Linked DNA regions of Homo sapiens: region 2 is linked to region 1. Evidence: promoter capture Hi-C in human tissues and cell types (Jung and others, 2019). All regions are on one chromosome and are shown on one strand. Each heading gives the region's core, a stretch centred on a gene start or on the middle of the fragment in contact. The rest is flanking DNA. Distances are from core to core; before and after follow the strand shown.

Evidence for each region. The method cuts DNA at HindIII sites, captures the fragments that hold promoters and counts their contacts. A contact is called where the count stands out against the background at its distance.
Region 2: a contact is called between a fragment that was not itself captured here and the fragment with the promoter of GZMB in region 1, in 7 of the 25 tissues and cell types used here (H1 embryonic stem cells, adrenal gland, bladder and 4 more).

What each region holds. Positions count from the first base shown.
Region 1 is chr14:24,632,620-24,635,945 of GRCh38, reverse strand. GZMB (granzyme B) reads left to right here and starts at 1,756. Exons shown (of 5, transcript NM_004131.6): 1 at 1,756-1,840; 2 at 2,884-3,031. The coding sequence starts at 1,786. GZMH-AS1 (GZMH and GMZB antisense RNA 1) reads right to left here and starts at 2,844. Exons shown (of 3, transcript XR_007064087.1): 1 at 2,598-2,844; 2 at 1-1,650. RefSeq lists an enhancer at 1,178-2,377. The HindIII fragment of the contact is 16,614 bases long and covers 1-3,326 here.
Region 2 is chr14:24,568,074-24,571,399 of GRCh38, reverse strand. No RefSeq gene overlaps it. Among named protein-coding and RNA genes, the nearest start is that of CTSG, 6.5 kb to the left of the region's middle. The HindIII fragment of the contact is 6,762 bases long and covers 1-3,326 here.

The DNA.
Region 1 (3,326 bases), core at 507-3,006:
GGTTAATTGTATGTTATGTGAATTTTACCTCAATTTTTTAAATGGGTCATAAACTTATGTTTAGCATAATCCCCTTTTAATTTTAAAAAATGCAGATATTACATGAGAAAAAATGTGCTAGAGCATATTTCAAGACATTAAAGATGGTTATCAGTGAATGATGAGAAATTAGGTAATGTTTATTATTTTCGCTTTGCTAAAATTATTTAAAAATTACTTGCATATTAAATTTTTTAATGCCTAGGAAAGAAAGACTATAGTTGTATTGACTAAGATTTCTACGAGCATGGGGAAAATGCTTAATTTGTAGGGTTAATCAAGGATAAAATAAATTGCATTGTATGTACAATGTGATCCCAAGTATTTAAAACACACTGCTTATGGTAACAGTCAGTCTGTGGGAGACAGGTTAAAAAGTGATATTTTCCCTTCCTACTTTCCAAATTTTCTTAACAAACATATATTATGACTATAATCAGAAAAAATTATTTTTAAAACGTCTACTATGGGGCAAGCTAGGTTCAAAAAATAGAAGTTTGATAAATGTAGTTGGCTTGCTATTGACAAGGAAGACGTTTACACTGGAATTCTATATTTTGAGATATACCATTCCTCATAGAAAAATTTCCTCACAGAAAATATAAAGGTGGAAACAAATCACAAGAATCGAACCATGTAGAGAGACTTAGTTGTCTTTTAACAGAATTGGGCACGGGCTGTTCAGAAACAACAATCTTTCACATCCATTATAATGATAGCATTAGTGTAGTTTGTTTAGCAAATGTTTACTGTGAGCCTGTTATGTGCTGAGCCTGCTATGTAAGAAGTGTGGCTCTCTGGACAGGAGACAGAATACTAAACAACACAACTACTGATCTTTGGCTGCCTGGCATGCTTCCTCACTTCATATGGTATCAGCAATTTAGCACCACAAACGTCCTTTAGAGAACCAGCCCTTTCTCATTCTTGGTTCTAGTGGCTTGAGTAGACTGACCCCAGCCTACCCAAAGTGGATTTGACTCCTAGCAATTCATTAATCTAGCCCAATAAAATGTCAAGTACAGGACTTTTATTGAAAGCATTCAGAAAAGAGGTGGACTCTCACACTAAACATTTGTAACTAAATAAGGGATGTTAGAAATTCTCTAGAAAGGAAGCTATGATAATAAATGGGTTGCTAGATGGGTCTAGTAGATGGTGGCCATGCTTTGTTACTGCCTTGTGTATTGTGCTACCATAGCCCTCCCCAAACTGTACTCTGGCTCCTGGCATTTCCGTCTCTTCAACCAGATGGTCAGCTCTCTAAGTGAAGGAGACACATCTCCAACATGCTTGGTTCTAGCACAACAGAAGGGCTCAAACACATACCTGCTAAAGAAACTATCCTGATGGATTTAGCAGCATGGCCATGAGGCATTGGCGGTTCTATCACTGGGAACTCAGGTTTCTGGTGCTCCAGTACCTCTACTGGCTGATACCACATCCTACAATTCACTTCATAGGCTTGGGTTCCTGCTCTGGGCTGAATAGGTGGTCCACTCTGAGTCATCAGCTGTGGGTGATGATGTGGTCACTGCATGATTCTCACACAAGCACCCAGAGGACGTCATCAGGCAGAGGCAGTGGGGGTGGGCAGCATTTACAGAAAATCTGTGATGAGACACCACAAAACCAGAGGGGAACATGAAGTCACTGAGCCTGCTCCACCTCTTTCCTCTCCCAAGAGCTAAAAGAGAGCAAGGAGGAAACAACAGCAGCTCCAACCAGGGCAGCCTTCCTGAGAAGATGCAACCAATCCTGCTTCTGCTGGCCTTCCTCCTGCTGCCCAGGGCAGATGCAGGTGAGTGACCGTCTCCACCCTCGGGGGCCCAACCCCATCCCACAGGTCTCCTGCCCTTTCTCCACATTCCTGATCCATCTATCTACCAGGAATGTTCTGAACTCCAGCTCCCATTCTACCAAGACCCCCCAAGTGTGATGCTGGATAAGCTATCAGCAGGAATGGCAGAGCAGCAGGCCATTCTCAAGAAGAGCCAGTGGGTACTATCCCTTCCCCAGAGCCCACCTTTGTCACCTGGAGAGTAGGACTTTCCTAGAAGTAAATGGCAGAGGATGGGAAACTAGAAAAGAGAAATATTAAATTATTCTAGAGTAGGCCTGGCTTCTGTTTCTGGGATAAGACAGGTGCTTCTCTCACTGTCTACTTAGGAGAGAAACCCAGAGCTCAGCTGACAGCAGAATTGGTACAATCACTGTCCTCAGAACACTGTTAATGTGTTTGCTCAGTCCCATTCTCCAACTCTGCTTTTCTTCCCTGGCCTTTGGTGGCTCCCCTCTTTCCAAGGATGAGGCACTACGGCAGGCCCCAGCTTCCCTGCTTTCTAGAATTCCACCAGCACTGCTCTACCAGCCCTCATCCAGAGGCTAACTGGAGCCAGTCCATCATGCAGCCATGAACATTTACTGGGCACCCACTACATGTCAGGCTCTAGGAAACAGGATATGACAGTATCTAGATCCCTCCACTTACACCCTGGCCATTAGAAAGCAGCACTATCCTAGACACCACAGGACTCATAAGGGTCTTGGAAACTCACCTGAAACAAAGCAAAGTCAGGAGAGGAATGATCAGGAGCCTCTGGGATTTCACTGTCCCTAAGACAGGTATGCTCGCCTTCAACTACATATGGAAGAAAGATTTACAGACCAAAGTCTGCTGTTCTTCCCTTTTTCAGAGCAGGAAATTGAAGCCCCTTCCTCCAGGCCACTCCCAACTCCAGGCTATCCCAGGCTCCCAAATGCCCAGGAGTTCTGGAGCCACTAAGCAGGTGCCCACCCAGCAGATTCCATGGGTGCCCACAAGCAGACAGACTTTTCCTTCAGGGGAGATCATCGGGGGACATGAGGCCAAGCCCCACTCCCGCCCCTACATGGCTTATCTTATGATCTGGGATCAGAAGTCTCTGAAGAGGTGCGGTGGCTTCCTGATACGAGACGACTTCGTGCTGACAGCTGCTCACTGTTGGGGAAGGTGAGGAGCAGAAAACAGCCCACACCCTCCTGGAAACACTCCACAGAGACCCCTGCCTTCTTCCCAAGGAGCTCCCTGGGCTCCTGTGAACACACATGCCAGGAGGTCTCCTTAGAGGGTGAGAAAAGGGCAGTTAAGTTTGTGGAGAGAGGGGAAGGTTGGTTCCAGAGGTGCTGCTGAAGTAAGAAACAGCAGAGTGACCAAGCCTGCCATATTTAGAACTGGGGGCATACTTTGGCATAGAATACAAACTGAAGCAATTCCACCTGTGTTTCTAGGGGGAACCGAACCCTGA
Region 2 (3,326 bases), core at 411-2,910, 64 kb after region 1:
GCCAGTCAGCACTTCCAAGGCAGCTCTTTGTCTCTGCTGCCCTACTGAAAAGGTCTCTACAGACCCCAGGGTACTCACCTCCAGAAGGTGACCATCCCAGAAGCCAGATCCACCACTTCTAACAAATCTGCACTCTTCCCTGTTGAGTAAACCTCATCAGCAGAACTTTGGCAAGAAAGCATTTTGCACAATGAAAACCAGTGCAAAAGAACACAATTCTTTCTTTTTCCACGTGCAGACTTTGTGCGTTAGAAGCCTTATCAACTTGAATGGAAAGTCATAAAATTATGGTAAGCTCAGGCACAGAAACCTCACTGGGAACTTCTCCCCCAACCCAACAGCTAAGGCAAAAAGGAGAAGGATTGGGTCAGGTGATGATATTTCAGAAAGAGAAAGTCTTTCTCCTCTTTCTCTCTCTCTCTCTCTCACACACACACACACACACACACACACACACACGCACCCATTCACCCACACTAAGCCATTTTCCTTTTCAAACAACCAAAGGCCAGAGAAGGGGGAGCAGAGAAGAAAGAGTCTGTGTAGATGGAAAATCTGAAGATTCTGAGTTGAGCTCTGCCTCTTCCCGTTCCATGTGGAGCCTTCAGAGGCCCTACCTGCAAGGCCAGGACTGTGTCTGACATGTACATGTAAATGAGAAACCTCTCTCTACTCCAGAATCTCAAGTGTTGCTCCACAAGATTCTGCAGTTGCCTGAAACTGCTACTCAACAGTACAAAGAAGGTCATGGATGACTAGATTCATCAGGGATATTGGTCTGTAGTTTTCTTTTTTGTTGTATCTTTGTCTAGTTTTGGTATCAGGGTGACACTGGCCTCATCGAATGAGTTAGGAAGAATTCCCTACTCCTTGATTTTTTGGTATAGTTTCAGGAAGATTTGTATTAGTTCTTTGTTTGGTAGAATTCAGCTGGTCTTGGGTTTTTTTTGCTGGAATATTTTTATTACTAATTTAATCTCACTACTCACTATTGATCTGTTCAGGAGTTTTATTTCTTCCTGGTTCAATCTCAGGAGATGTTTTCAGTAATTTATCCATTTCCTCTAGGTCTTCTAGTTTGTAAGTATATAATTGTTCATAATAGTCTCTGATGATCTTTGTATTTCTGTGGCATGTTTTAATGTCTCTTTTTCATTTCTGATTGTGTTTATTTGGATTTTCTCTTCTTGGTAAGTCTAGCTAGTGGTTTGTCAATATTGTTTATCTTTTTGAAGAACCAATTTTTTGTTTCATTGGTCCTCTGTAAACTTTTGTTGGTCTCTATTACATTTAGTTCTCCTCTGATCTTTGTTATTTCTGTTATTCTTTTTAATTCTGGGTTTGGTTTGTTCTTGCTTTTCTAGTTCCTTGTCAAACTAGCATTTCTAGTTTGCATTGTTAGGTTGCTTATTTTCAATATTTCTACTTTTTGATGTAGGTATTTAATGCTATAAAATTCCTTCTTAGCACTGCTTTTCCTGTATCCCACAGGTTTTAGTATATAGCATTTTTATTTTCATGTGTTTCAAAAAAAAATTAATTTCTGTGTTAACTTCTTTCTTGACCCAGTGATTGTTCAGAAGCATGTTGTTTAATTCCCATGTATTTTTATGGTTTCCAAAGTTCCTCTGGGTATTGATTTCTACCTTTATTTCACAGTGGTCTGAGAAGATACTTGAGGTAATTTCAATTGTTTAAAATTTGTTAAGACTTGTTTTATAACCTAACGTGGTTTATCTTGAAGAATATTCCATATGCTGATGAAAAGAATGTATATTTTGTAGTTGTTGCATAGAATGTTCTGTATAAGTCCATTTAGTCTAAAGTCCAATTTAAGTCCAATGTTTCTTTGTTAATTTTTTGTCTTGATGATCTATCTAGTCCTGTGAGTGGGATGTTGAAGCTCCCGCTATTATTGTATTGCCACCTCTTTAGGTCTAGTAATATTTGTTTTATTAATTTGGGTGCTCCAATGTTGAATGCATATACATTTAGGACTGCTATATCCTCTTGCTGAATTGATCCCTTTATCATTATATGATGACCTTCTTTGTCTTTTTTCCTGCTTTTTATTTAAAGTCTGTTTTATCTGATACAATATATCTACTTCTGCTAACTTTTGGTTTCCTTTTGTGTAGAATATCTATTTCCACCTCTTTGCTTTGAGTCTATGTGTGTCTTTATTGGTAAGATGAGTTTTGTATGTAGAATATAGTTCAGTCATGTTTTTAATGCATTCTGCCAATCTATATCTTTTTTTTTTTTTTTTTTTTGAGACGGAGTCTCGCTCTGTCGCCCAGGCTGGAGTGCAGTGGCGGGATCTCGGCTCACTGCAAGCTCCGCCTCCCGGGTTCATGCCATTCTCCTGCCTCAGCCTCCCAAGTAGCTGAGACTACAGGCGCCCGCCACTACGCCCGGCTAATTTTTTGTATTTTTAGTAGAGACGGGGTTTCACTGTTTTAGCCGGGATGGTCTCGATCTCCTGACCTCGTGATCCGCCCGCCTCGGCCTCCCAAAGTGCTGGGATTACAGGCGTGAGCCACCGCGCCCGGCCCAATCTATATCTTTTAAGTGGAGCATTTAGTCCATTTACATTCAAGGTTGATATTGATATGTAAAGCTTTATTCCTGTCACTGTTAATTGTTTTCAAGTTGTTTTATAAATTATTTCTTTCTTTTTTTTTTCTCTGTGTTTTTCTCTTTGTGGTTTGATGAAATTCTGTCATGTTGCCATTTGATCCTTTTCTCTTCCTCCTTTGTGTGATTGTTTTATAAGACCTATGAGTTTTATATTTTCATTTGTTTCTGTGATGGTGAATATCAACCTTCTGTTTCCATGTTTAAGACCCCTTTGAGCATTTCCTTTAGGGCTGGTATAGTGGTGACAATTTCCCTCAGTGTTTGCTTCTCTGGGAAAAACTTTATTTCTCCTTCATTTATGAAGCTTATTCTGGCAGAAAATAAAAATCTAGACTGACAATTTTTTCCTTTCAGTACTTTGAATATACCATATCATTCTCTTCTCCTGTGTAAGGTATCTGCTGAAAAGTCTGCTGTTAGTTCAATAAGGTTTCCTTTACAGGTGACTAGATGCTTTTCTCTTGCTAATTTTAAAATTCTTTCTTCTACCTTGACTTTAGACATTCTGAATATAATATGCCATGGTGAAATCCTTTTTGCAATGTATTTTCATGGAGATTGCTAGGCCTCCTATACCTGGGTGTCTAACTTTCTTGCTAGACTTGGGAAGTTTTCATAGATTACCTCCTTAAACAGGGTTTCTAAACTCTGATCTCTTTTCCTCCTTGGGAACACCAATAATTTTT